Regions from separate parts of the Homo sapiens genome. Here region 2 is linked to region 1. Evidence: promoter capture Hi-C in 16 types of primary human blood cells and fetal thymus (Javierre and others, 2016). All regions are on one chromosome and are shown on one strand. The core of a region is centred on a gene start or on the middle of the fragment in contact, and the rest is flanking DNA. Distances in the headings are between cores, read along the strand shown.

What was found. The method cuts DNA at HindIII sites, captures the fragments that hold promoters and counts their contacts. A CHiCAGO score of 5 or more calls a contact.
Region 2: a fragment that was not itself captured here is called in contact with the fragment with the promoter of RESF1 in region 1 in 3 of 17 cell types (naive CD4 T cells, non-activated CD4 T cells and naive CD8 T cells); the score reaches 7.0 in naive CD4 T cells.

The regions. Positions count from the first base shown.
Region 1 is chr12:31,957,449-31,963,838 of GRCh38, forward strand. It overlaps RESF1 (retroelement silencing factor 1), which reads left to right and starts at 1,967. Exons shown (of 6, transcript NM_018169.4): 1 at 1,967-2,043; 2 at 3,329-3,423. It overlaps LOC105369725 (a long non-coding RNA gene), which reads right to left and starts at 1,856. Exons shown (of 2, transcript XR_931503.2): 1 at 1,680-1,856; 2 at 1,045-1,356. RefSeq lists enhancers at 1-88, 92-885, 5,607-6,107 and silencers at 1,938-2,277, 4,621-4,680. The HindIII fragment of the contact is 2,403 bases long and covers 1,179-3,581 here.
Region 2 is chr12:32,024,198-32,031,541 of GRCh38, forward strand. No RefSeq gene overlaps it. Among named protein-coding and RNA genes, the nearest start is that of RESF1, 68 kb to the left of the region's middle. RefSeq lists an enhancer at 798-1,092. The HindIII fragment of the contact is 8,674 bases long and covers 1,190-7,344 here.

The sequences.
Region 1 (6,390 bases), core at 717-3,216:
CATCCAGATGGCCTGAAGCAACTGAAGATCCACAAAAGAAGCGAAAATAGCCTTAACTGATGACATTCCACCATTGTGATTTGTTTCTGCCCCATCCTAACAGATCAATGTATTTTGTAATCTCCCCCACCCTTAAGAAGGTTCTTTGTAATTCTCCCCACCCTTAAGAAGGTTCTTTGTAATCTCCCCCACCCTTAAGAAGGTTCTTTGTAATTCTCCCCACCCTTGAGAATGTACTTTGTGAGATCCACCCCCTGCCCGCAAAACATTGTTCCGCGGAGCCTCTCCCAAAACCTATAAGAATTAAAGATAATCCCACCACCCTTTGCTGACTCTCTTTTCGGACTCAGCCCGCCTGCACCCAGGTGAAATAAACAGTCTTGTTGCTCACGCAAAGCTTGTTTGGTGGTCTCTTCACACGGATGCGCGTGACACAAAGTGCTGGGGTTACAGGCCTGAGCCACCACACCTGGCCACCCCCAATCTTTAAGAATATTCTGGCCGGGCGCGGTGGCTCATGCCTGTAATCCCAGCACTTTGGGAGGCTAAGGCGGGCGGATCAAGAGGTCAGGAGATCGAGACCATCCTGGCTAACATGGTGAAACCCCGTCTCTACTAAAATACAAAAAATTAGCCGGGCATGGTGGCGGGCGCCTGTAGTCCCAGCTACTTGGGAGGCTGAGGCAGCAGAATGGCGTGAACCTGGGAGGCGGAGCTTGCAGTGAGCCGAGATCGTGCCACTGCACTCCAGCCTGGGCGACAGAGCGTGACTCCGTCCCCCCCCCAAAAAAGAAAGAATATTCTGTATGTAGTTTTTTTGTTTTGTTTCTGACAGACGCAAACGCACTCTTCTAGTAATGACTAAAGACTTCTTCGTTTAATTCACCAATGAACTAATCTGACAATTTATGTAACAAATAAATTCCTATAAACATAAGCTCCCTTGCCCCTCTCCAGTGGCACAATCTCTGATTTGCCATCCTGGTTGCAACCTTCATTACTAAGTAAACGCTTACGTAAACCTTAATAATGAGATTCGGGCAATATGATTAAATATTGGTTTATTTGAGTGCAAAGTTTGAGGATGGCGACCCGGTAGGACACAGACTCCAAAAGATGGGGGTCAGTGCTTCGAAAGGGAGAAGTTTGAGGGTCGTTTACACAGGCAGGGTCTGGGAAGCTTAACAGGATGTCAACATTTTCCATAGAAGGTTAACGCATAGCAATTTGATTGGTTCAAGGCAGTGTTTCTTTTTGGGAAGGGTCTATTTAACATTCCACATTAAGGATGTAATAGTCAAGCGGTCATTTATCTTATTCAATGCGTATTTTATCTCAGATGCCATCTGGTCTGAGCTGGGAACAAGAAAATAAGGGAGTTAATCTATAACAAAAGGTCGGCAATTAAGAGGTCGTGCTTCGTGATCTGGTCTCCAAAGTCAACTTTCCTCAGGGACTTTCAGAATCCCCAAATAGACTATCCACTTTCTTTCACACTTATTTGCCTCTAACTTGTTGATTTCTTTTTTTTTTTTCTGTTTTTTAAGGGTTAACAATCTCTTGGGTGCACTCTGACTTCCATGCGCTTTATAGAAAAAATTGGTCCTGAGGCCAGCAGCAACAGTCGGTCTCAGGAACTTGTTAGAAATGCACATTTTTCAGCCCCACCCCAAACCTACTGAATCAGCAGTTTTGCTGGTGGTTCTCAATCTCTCTTTAACGTGCCCTCTGGGTGCTGCGGATGCACGCTGAAGGTAGAAGATCGCTGCAGGAGATTTCCGCGTCGGGCAGATGAAAGCGCTCTGCAAGCCCGGGTGTTATCTGCGGGCCGGGTCCGCGGCTTCTCTGGTGGCACTAGGACCGCGGCGGCGCGGCCCTCGCAGCCACCGCCTCGGGCGTGAGGCGGAGCGTAGCTGTTCCTGGATCCTGGGCCTGGCTCCTCGACCCGCCCCTGGAGGCGGACCCCACTTGACTTAAACTCTGGGGCCCGGGAGGCCGCCGGTTTTCTCCCCGCTTGCCGGGGTGGTCCTCTTCCCTTTGTCGGTAAGTGTGAGACGAGCACCCCGAGGTCCCTCCGCCTTCCGGGGTCCGGGCGGGGCGGGGGCCGGGAGCCGGGAGCCAGAGGCACTCGCGGTCCGGGCCTGCGCGCGGCGCAGAGCGCTTTTGTTCTGCGGCAAAGACGCAGTCGCGGGCGGCCCCGGAACCCGGGCCTCGGGCCCCGCCGGCTCGCGCGTCCCGCCGTCCGCCCACCGGAGCTGGGCCGGGCCGCCGCGCTTGCTTCTGCCCGCCGCACCGGGGCCGGCCCTGGGCCTCCGCGGATGCCGAGCCTTGCACCGGAGGGCGGGCCTCGCTGGCTGTTTTCCCTCATTGCCTGGCTCTGCGCGGTAGAGGTCGCGAGTGGCGAAGGCTAGGACGCATTTTGTCGAACTGCGAGGCGCGGCTGGTGAGGCGGGTGGGTATGAGAGCTGCTTATGTTTTTAAGGCTTTCCTGTCGCTGGAGTGAAAAAGAAAAATCTTTTTTTTTTTTTGCTATTTCCCGAGGGTTCTCCTCCTCCCCGGCCCTCTTAAGCCGAAGCCTCCTGGAACAGAATTGCTGTACTGGCATCTATCTCCAAGTGGTCCGCGAACGCTTCTGCGCCGGCGATGGTTTCTGTTCCTCAGCAATAGTTCCTTGAGGCATTTTTAAATGCACAAACGCATACCCATCTTAGGTGTTCTCGAGGGACACGGATTCCCTAAGCAAACGTCCTTAGGGTCCTGAGTTCAGCAGCAAACTTTCGGGGAATCATTTCCGTGAAAACAATTTATTTGTAGTACATCGAGTGCATACTGTCTTAACATAAGGATGTGTATGAGCTTGAGGCGCATTTTCATTTAGTGGCGGGCGGGTGCATTTCAGTAGGCGGGCCGCAGAGCTTGTTTGGGGATTGCATTTTTCTGCTAAATGTGTTAGCTTTAATCATGTTTCAGTCACTGTTAATGTGCATGCATGTTAAGGTTTTAGGTTTTTTCCCCTGTGCAGTCGGATTTTTTTCTGTTTAATATTAATCCAATAAAGACAAGTGCAGAGATAAAGTATTATTGTTTTGCAGTGATACTACAATAGCGGACCTAGAGGAGCGCACATAAATTCTAACTTAAGTGAATGGTATTTTCAGGCCAGACCTAGTTTCTATTTCTGTTACTTAGGACACTTAATAAGAATTCAGTAAACTTAGCATGCTTTCAGTGCAGCCATAAAAGAAAACAGTTTTGCACAGCAGTGTCATATCTAGTAAACACATTAGCATGTGCTCTTTTATTATAAAATGTTTCTTGCTGTCCCTAGGACCAAAGAAGTAAACACTGTGTGGAGAGGGACTGACGTGTTTGGAGGGAAATGGGAATGTACACGATAATTAAAGAGTAAAGTTGTGCTCAACGGTAAGTGTATCACCTCTAAGAAACCCGCCCTGATTTAACCAGGCGGTTATTCACACTCAACTATGGAGTAATTCACCTATTACCGAATAAAATTACTAGCTCAGTGAATCAACATCGGTTTTAAATTAAACTGTGGGTCACAATGGAATTGACAGCAAAGCTTGAGAAGAAATGTTGTTGGCATAGTACTGAAAAATCAGTTGTTAATCTTAGCAAAATAAGGAAAGAGGTCTTTGGTAAGGGAATTGTGGTGGAAGTTACCTGGGCAGAGGTCTGCTTCTGTCTGTGCTGTGTTTATTTGATTGTTTTTATTATATTTTATTACTGTTGGTGGCACATAGGGGAATGTGGCGCAGAGCACCACTCTGGGAGGATGCTTCCCGTGCAGCCAAAGTGATCATGTCCAGGGCTTTCATCTGTAACCACAAAGTGTGTTAGGAAGTCTCACCTAATGATTAAGACCATGGTCCCTGTAACCACACTGCTTTGGTTCAGATCTTGGCTGTAGCACTCAGCCAACCCTGGAAAATAAACCTCTGCCTGTTCTCTCATCTATAAAATGGGGACAAGCACTAATGTCATAGGATTGTTATGGTAGAGTTACATGAGTTTCATGCATATCACAGTTAAACAGCTCCTGATGCATGGCAAGTGCCCAATAAATGTTAGCTATTGTCATGTTAGAGGAAATAGATTTTGTGGCCTGGGACATGTAATGCTGCCTTAGCAGAAATTCAGCTGGTTCATTTAAGCTCTAAATTTATGAGCTTTTTATTGATTAAACCCATCACTGTAGATCCTCTTAGATTCTCTTTTTTGTAGGTCTTGTTTTGTTAGGAAGTACCTGTCACTACTGGTCCACATCTGGATTTACCTGCAGGCTTGTTTGGAATAAAAAATGCCTCCAAATTCCTAGGCAGGACAAACTTGCCCCAAAGCTTTGTTGTTCTACATTATCTCTGTGATTGTACAGGAATCTCTCTTCCCTCCTAGATTATCAGTGTCTTGGATATAATTGGAGCTCAAATGCTTAGGGAATTGATTTAATGTTGCTTAAAACGTATTTGTAGGCCAGGTGTGGTGGCTCACGCCTATAATGCCAGCACTTTAAGAGGCTGGGGCAGGCAGATCACTTGAGGCCAGGAGTTCGAGACCAGCCCTGGCCTCAAGTTGGCCAACATGGCAAAACCCCATCTTTACTAATAATAACAAAAATTAGTCGGGCGTGGTGGCACATGCCTGTAATCCTAGCTACTCAAGTGGCTGAACCCAGGAGGTGGAGGTTGCAGTGACCTGAAGTCACCCCATCGTACTGCAGCCTGGGTAACAGAGCAAGATTCTGTCTTTTTAAAAAAAAAAAAAAAAAAGCATTTGTGAAGGTGAATTTCAAGAATCTAATCAGGCCTCCCTCCCTCCCCCATTAGAGGCACACTCTATTATGTAAAACAGACAGGGAGTGTATTCATTTTGAGATAAGTCCAGGATAACAGTTGACTAACCCTGGCTATAGATACGCAAGTTAAACATTCACTTTGGAAGAAGATTGTGAAGAAAGAATCTTGGACCTTGAGGAATTCTAAATGCTTTGTTGGGTGGCAACTATGCAATACTTACACTATTCCTAATACCTTAAGTGTACTTGTAAGTGAAGAGCAAAGTTGGAGGCTGTTGAGGTAAATAATCTCAAGTGAGATTGGAACTATACATTTTATGCTCCTGGTTTTCATGATCGCAAAGATTTAATGACAGTAACTTAAGATTCTCTTGATGTATCAAATTACAAGGTTTCATTTGTAAATAAGGTGATTAAAATGACAAAGTGTATTAAAAGAAATTGTATTGTCCAGTGAAGTTTTAAGAAACAGAAACCATAAGGTGATTATTATTTTTCAAGCCCCAAAGGAGAATTCATTAGATGACATACTTTTAAAGTTCATGGATCAGGGTCGGGTGCGGTGGCTCATGCCTGTAATCCCAGCACTTTGGGAGGCCAAGGTGGGCAGATCACCTGAGGTCAGGAGTTGGAGACCAGCCTGGCCAACATGGTGAAGCTCCATCTCTACTAAAAGTACAAAAAATTAGCCAGGCGTGGTGGCACATGCCTGAAATCCCGGCTATCCGGGAGGCAGAGGTTGCAGTGAGCTGAGATCGCGCCACTGTACCCTAGCTCGGGTGACAGAGTGAGACTCTGTCTTAGAAAATAAAGTCCATGGGCTGGTCGCAGTGGCTCACGCCTGTAATCCCAGCACTTTGGGAGGCCAAGGCAGGTGGATCATGAGGTCAGGAAATCGAGACCACCCTGGCTAACAGGTGAAACCCCAAAATTAGCCAGGTGTGGTGGCATGCGCCTGTAGTCCCAGCTAACTCAGGAGGCTGAGATAGGAGAATTGCTTGAACCCAGGAGGGGAGGTTGCAGTGAGCTGAGATCACACCACTGCACTCCAGCCTGGACGACAGAGCGAGACTGTCTCAAAAAAAAAAAAAAAAGTTCATGGAGCACAACCTTTGGGTTTTGATGGATCCAGGATCTAAATCCAAAAGAGAGTTTTAAAGATTTGGGACACTGTATCTTTGAGCTCTGCTGTCCTCTGCTTTGGTTTTCAGGCAGACCATCCCTCCACTGGGCAGCCCTGACATCTCCAGATGCAAGCAGCTTCAAGTTGTTCAGAGCATGCCTTTTGTAACTATAGTTAGAGATAAAATTCATAAGCCATTTATTCACTCATTTACACCCAGTGTACAGTTTCAGTGGTTTTTAGTATATTCAGAGTTGTGCACCCATCACCACGTCAATTTAAGAATATTTTATTACCCCCAAAATATCTCCATACTCAATAGTGGTAACTCCCCATTTTCTCCAACGCACCTTTCCCTAGGTAACCATTAATCTACTTCTGTAGGTTTGCATATTCTGAACACTTCATATAATTGAAGTCATAATATTTTTCATCCAGCATGTTTTCAAGG
Region 2 (7,344 bases), core at 4,277-6,776, 70 kb after region 1:
TAATTTTTATATTTTTAGTGGAGACAGGGTTTCACCATGTTGGCCAGGATGGTCTCGATCTCTTGACCTCATGATCTACTCGCCTTGGCTTTCCAAAGTGCTGGAATTACTGGCTTGAGCCACCACGCCCAGCGGTGTGTAGCTTTTTATCTTTTTTTTTTTTGAGATGGAGCCTTGCTCTGTTGCCCAGGCTGGAGTGCAGTATGCGATCTCAGCACTTTGGGGCGGGGGCAAGATGAACAGATCGCTTGAGTTCAAGAGTTCAAGACCAGCCTGGGCAACATGTCTAAACCCCATCTCCACAAAAAAATATAAAAATTAGCTGGGCGTAGTGGTACCCGCCTGTAGTCCCAGCTACTCAGGAGGCTGAGGTGGGAGGATCAGTTGAGCCAGGGAGGCAGAGGTTGCAATGAGCTGAGATTGCATCACTGCACTCCAGCCTGTGTGACAGAGTGAGACCCTGTCTCAAAAAAAAAAAAAAACTTAAAATCTTTTTTTTAATTCTCTCAATTTCAATCTCACTTACTTCTTCTTTCAAAGCCACCACTGTCTGAACCTGGTGCCCTTCCTTCTGATTATAGTTTTCGTTGTTGTTACTGTGTTTTGTTTACTTTTACAATTTTGGAATATGAAAATATCTTTCTTTTGTAACGACAAATATGGAATACAAACATTACAACTTCTTTTTTTGCCCATCCTGGATTAAAAAGGAAATAATAGATGAAATGCCTTGCAAAGAGGACAAAATATTTTGGGGTCTAAAATGTGCTTTGCCCAGGATCTTGCCTTGTAATGATAATGACTCTCCCTTAGTGATCCAAACAAAGGAATGTGGTCAACTGTATGAACAAGGTTCAGTGAAGTCCTGAGTCACATGACAATCTGTCCTCCCCAAGCCTCTGTGCTTCAGAAGCTGGAAAGTCGTTCTACCCTTGGGCACAGGGTACATGTGCAGTAGCAATAAATAGCACCAGGAGGAATAGGAGCAACAAGTGTTACTGGTAGAGGGTCTTGACTACGAGTTGTCCAGGTCCTTGGCATTTTGAACAAAGAATTGAACAAAACGTACGAAGTAGCAGAGAAATGAAATGCAGGAATGAAGCAACGAGAGCAGGAATTCATTAAAGCGAGAAAGCACTTCACAGGGTGGGAGTGGGCCTGAGCAAGCAGCTCAAGGGTGCAGTTACAAAGCTTTCTGGGCTTTAAGTACCTCATTTGAGGTTCTTATCTAGATGAAGGATTTGGTCTGTGGCAAATTAAAGACTGAGGTGAACTGGCGCCCTGTGCAGATAAAGGGATGGTCCCTGCTTCGCCAGGGCCAATCCAAGGCACTCTCCTTTTCCATCCCAGCACTTTGGGAGCCTGAGGCAGGTGATCACTTGAGCTCAGGAGTTCAAGACCAGCCTGGCTAACATGGTGAAAACCTGTCTCTACTGGTGCTCTCGCCATTATTCCATCTGCTATGAGCCCCTTTCTGCATAAAGTAAAGTTTGCCTTGCTAAGAGAATTAAATTTATGTTTGAATGTTATTTCTTTGTAGCACTGGGGAACAAGCATTCTATTTCTAAATAAACATTTTTACATATAAGAAATGGTGGTCCGTACAGGGATACATTTTCCTCTGGGGTGGTCTCTAGTCCTCTCATGAGGGGGTCTCCCACTGCCTCATTGTGGTGGCCTCAGGGGTAGTAAGAAATTGAGACCCATCTGGTGTGATGAATAGACCCGGACTCTCAACAAGGCAGAAGAAACTGGCCAGCAATCTGGAGTAAATGATCCTCACATATGATGTGGACCAGGCGACCTCATGCATGAGCCAAGAAAGGAAACAAACCAGAGGAGCCGTACACCAGCACCTGCCTGGAAACCACATCCTCATCAAAAGATAGAAAGAAGAAAAACTCGAGGCAGCCTAAGAACCCTACCTTGTGCTGCTAACCACCGAGACTGCCGTTCGCACAGCAGAAAAGGATAGACACATCATACCCAAGTCAAAAAAGCGTCATCACCATCAAAGTTATAGGTCATTGTTCCAGGGTCAAGCCCTACCAAGTTAAAGCTAAGAAAACTTTATCTATCTTTTCTTTCCTTTAACTACTCCCCATCTTATTAATGTAACTAAATCTAACTCACCTCAAATTATTACTTTTAATGCCTGTTCAGTTATCACTCCTCTCATACCAAATGACAAAACCAAAGTCTTTGTAGTAAAAGTAAAAAAATCTAAAGCAAACCACAGCAATTAAAACAAGATATCAAGATGTAAATGACTAGCTAAAATACATTAAATATTCTGTCCGCACTCTAAATAAAAGCAATTGTTATGCTTGTGCACACAGTAGGCTAGAAGTCCAAGTTATCCCCTTTCCACTCAGATAGTCCTCTAATCGACAAGGCATGGACTGCATGGTAGCTCCTTTTCTTCTTTTGTCTTTTTTTCTTTTTTTTATCTGAGACGGAGTCTCGCTCTGTCGCCCAGGCTGGAGTGCAGTGGCGCAATCTCGGCTTACTACAAGCTCCACCTCCCGGGTTCAAGCCATTCTCCTGCCTCAGCCTCCCAAGTAGCTGGGACTACAAGCGCACGCTGCCAAGCCCGGCTAACTTTTTTTTTTTTTTTTTTTTTGTATTTTTAGTAGAGACGGGGTTTTACCCTGTTAGCCAGGATGGTCTCGATCTCCATCTCCTGACCTCGTGATCCGCCCGTCTCGGCCTCCCAAAGTGCTGGGATATAGGCGTGAGCCACTGCACCCGGCCGGTATCAAAATCCTGCAGCCTAAGATAGTAAAGTGTGCCAAACTCTCTCTACTATTTCCTAAAGTGCAGTACCCTGAGGGTCAGCCCCCCGAGGGCCATTCAGCCTCCATCTTCCAAGACCAATTTTACCTCGTGTCTCCAACGATAAAAGGAAAATTTAGCGTACTTTGAAGACTTAACATGATACAGCGAGGTCAGGCACTTCCAAAAGCTAACCCATCAGTCCACCCTTATTCATCCCCAAGCGGATGCATAGTAATACTGTAAAAAACCTTTACTAGACACTCTACCAAATAATTAGAGCAGCACTTATGCTCTAGTTCAATTAGCTATCCCTTTTACCCTGGCATTTCATCAATCAGAAAAAGAGAAATTACGACATAAGCAAATAAAAGAAGCCTCAAAAGAAGCAGCCCCTTACAGCTATTTTGATTCCCATGTCTATTCAGATGCAATTAGAGGTCCTCACAGAGTACCAAATAAATTTAAAACCAGAGATCAAATAGCTGCAAGGTTTAAGTCAATGTTGTTTTAGTGAGTAGCAATTAATAAAAATGTAGATTAAATAAACTGCATTTATTACTACCAGCAGCAATTTATTAACTATACCAAAGATGCTGTTAAAGAAATAGCTGAACAATTAAAACCCACAAGTCAAATGGCCTGAGAAAATAAGATAACTTTAAATATAATATTAACAAAGAAAGGTAGTGTTTATATTATAATCAAAACTCAGTGTTGCACCTTTATTCCAAACAACACTGCTCCCAATGGGAGCATAACAAGGACCCTCCAAGGACTTACTGCCTTATTAAATAAGTTAGCAAAAAATTCCAGCATTAACAACTCTATTTCAAATTAGCTCGAGAAATAGTTCAGCCAACAGAAAGAGACCATGGCCTCAGTCCTTACTTCTCTAGCAACTGTAATAAGTATACTTCTCCTTATTAGATGTCATGTTATGTTATACCATACATTTAAAAGCTAATCAAAACAACTAAGCCAAGACATATTTAAAAAAAAAAGTTTGAAGAAGAAAACTATAAAAACAAGACAAGGAAATTGTAGAAAGTAAAAAGTTCCTCTTCAAAGTTTCCCTTCTTGTTCAAGAATAAATCATAAGTGTTAGAAATAGTAGTTTCTTTTAAAGACTAACTGTATGCTAGACATGCGCACAGGCCTGTCCCGGCTCGCAGCCTATGCCCCTTCCTTATTTAAGAATGTTATTACCTTTCTAAGTCCTTTCGTAAGTAACTTCCTCTTTTCCTTTGTCTTTCTATTGCCTTTGCCTATTTAGAAAAGTTTTAAACTGTTAGCTAATCAGGTTTTAGTTTAGATTGTGAGGTCTGGCTTTAGCCAATGGAGACAGGACACAGTAGCAGGGACAAACTGCGTAAAGGATAAAAATTACTTCCCTCCATTGTTCAGGTGTGCTCTTGCCATTATTCCATCTGTGGTGAATACTTGACTTTCTGCAAAAAGTAAAGATTGCCATGCTAAGAGAATTAAATTTATGTTCGAGTGCTATTTCTTCGTAGCACCAAGGAACAAGCATTCTATTTCTAAGTAAACATTTTTTACATATAACCAACAAACAAACAAAAACCTGTCTCTACTAAAAATACAAAAAAATTAGCAGGACGTGGTGGTGCACACCTGTAATCCCAGCTACTCAGGAGGCTGAGGCAGGAGAATCATTTGAACCCGGGAGGCCGGAGGTTGCAGTAAGCCAAGATTGTGCCACTGCACTCCAGCCTGGGTGACAGAGTGAGACTTCGTCTAAAAAAAAAAAAAAAAACAGATAAAAATGTGTTATTTGTAAATTAGCTGGGTGCAGTGGTGTGGGCCTGTAATCCCAGCTACTCATGGGGCTGAGGTGGGAGAATCTCTTGAGCCAAGGAGGCGGAGGTTGCAGTGAGCCCACATCACGCCACTTCACTCCAGCCTGGGTGATGGGAGTAAAACCCGGTCTTAAAAATAAGTAGGCCAGGCTCTGTGGCTCATGCCTGCAATCCCAGCACTTTGGGAGGCCGAAGTGGGTGGATCATTTGAGGTCAGGAGTTTGAGACCAGCCTGGACAACACGGTGAAACCCTGTCTCTACTAAAAAAAATACAAAAATTAGCTGGGCATGGTGGCGAGCACCTGTAATCCCAGCTACTTGGGAGGCTTAGGCAAGAGAATTGCTTGAGCCTGAGAGGCAGAGGTCGTGGTGAGCTGTGATAGCACCACTGCACTCCAGTCTGGGTGAGAGAGTGAGAGACCCTGTAGGAAAGAAAAGAAGGAGGGAAGGAGGGAAGGAGGGAAGGAAGGAAGGAGGGAGGGAGGGAAAGAAGAAAAGAAAGAAAGAGAGAGCGGGAGGGAGGCAGGGAGGAAGGGAGGGAGGAAGGAAGGAAGGGAAGGGAAAGGAAAGAAAGGAAGGGAAAGGAAGAAAGGAAAAGGAAAGAGAAAGAAAAAGAAAGAAGAAAGAGAGAAAGAAAGGAAGGAAGAAAGAGAAGAAAGGAAGAAAGGAAGAAAGGAAAGAAAGAGGGAGAAAGGAAGGAAAGGAAAGGAAAGAAAGGAAGACAGGAAAGGAAGAAAGGAAAAGGAAAGAAAGAAAGCAAAAGAAAGAAAGAAGAAAGGAAGAAAGGAAAGAAAGAGGGAGGAAGGAAGGAAAGGAAAGAAAGGAAGAAAGGAAAGGAAGAAAGAGAAAGAAAGAAGAAAAGAAAGGGAAGAAAGGAAGGAAAGAAAGAGGCCCTGTGCACAGCCTCACACCTGTAATCCTAGCACTTTGGGAGGTCGAGGTGGGTGGATCACTTGAGGTCAGGAATTTGAGAACAGCCTGGCCAACATGGTGACACCCCATCTCTACTAAATATATATATATATAAAAAATTTAGCTGGGCATGGTGATAGATGCCTGTAATTTCAGCTACTTGGGAGGCTGAGGCAGGAGAATCGCTTGAACCCAGGAGGGAGAGGTTGCTGTGAGCCAAGATAACACCACCACACTGCAGCCTGGGCTACAGAGTGAAACTCTGTCTCAAAAATAAATAAATAAAAATAAATTAATTAATAATTGTATTTATTGCTGCTATTTTTGAAGTTAATTAAAGGTATTTTAAGCTGGGTGTGGTGGTTCACACCTGTAATCCCAGCACTTTGGGAGGCCAAGGTGGGTAGATTTCTTGAGGCCAGGAGTTCAAGACCAGCCTGGGCAACATCGTGAGCCCTCATCTCTACTAAAGATAAAATAATTATCCGGGTGTGGTGTCATGAGCTTGTAGTCCTAACTGCTCAAGAGGCTGAGGTGGGAGGATCCCTTGTGCCTAGGAGGTGGAAGTTGCAGTGAGTCGTAATCTCACCACTGCACTCCAGCCTGGGTGACAGAGCCAGACCCTGTCTCAAAAGAAATAAATAGGCCGAGTGGGGTGGCTCACGCCTATAATCCCAGCACTTTAGGAGGCCAAGGCAAGTGGATCACATGAGGTCAGGAGTTCGAGACCGGCGTGGGCAGCATGCTGAAACCCCGTCTCTACTAAAAAAAAAATGCAAAAATTAGATGGGCGTGGTGGCACACGTCTGTAATCCCAGCGACTTGGGAGGCTGAGGCAGGAGAATCGCTTGAACCCCGGAGGCGGAGGTTGCAGTGAGCCGAGATTGTGCCATTGTGCTCCAGCCTGGGCAACCAGAGCAAAGCTCTGTCTCAAAAACAAACAAACATTTGCTTTTTTGTTTTTAATATTACTATTTTACTAATGGTACAATACTCCCCCATTTACCACAAGTGATAGATTTTCTGTCAGGTTTTCTTCCATTCCATGTAAAGCCATTTGTCTCCTCCATCAAATTATTTTACTGCTAATTCTGCCTTTAGTCATCTGCATTGTAATCTTTTACCTCTAGTTTTGTATGAATTCAACAGCCTTAAATAACTGCACGGAGTGATGCAACTTATTTATGATTAGAAAATGCTTGTTAATGAACCACATGCAGTCATTTTTGAAATTGTAAATGGCATTAACAATTTTTCTTCTTTTCTTTTTTTTACTTCTTTTTAAAATAACTTGGGTACTCTCTTTTCCTTATTCTTGCCAAGCATATATATTAGTGAAAACCTATGCGGGAAGTGGCAATTTGGTCTCCTCTTCCTCCTGTAGTTGTTAGTTATTTGAATAAGGTGATTTGAGTTATTTCTAATTCTGGCTGTATTCTCTTGGGTTCCCACAGACACACACCCTGAGAAAGGATTTGAAAGCAAGTATTAATAATTCACTGGGAGGTGATCTCAGGAAACACTGGTGGAGGACTGGCGACGTGAGATAAGGATGGAAGGGAAAAGCAGTTAAGAAAAGGGTGAGCTATCAATCCAGCTGCCACTGTGAGCAACTGTAGCTGCATCTTGCTGCAGAACCCTGGGACTCAGTGTAGAGAGCATGACCCAGACTTACCCACAGGATGAGTGAGGGAGCTGGTTATGAACTGCTGGGGGAGTGTTACAGTTCAGGCTGCCAGAGCAAACCTTGTCATGGAAATCAGCCGGGCATACACTACAGAGTCAGAAGTAGGGATGGAGGCACTGAAGATGGCAGGCACAAACACAGTGCAAAAT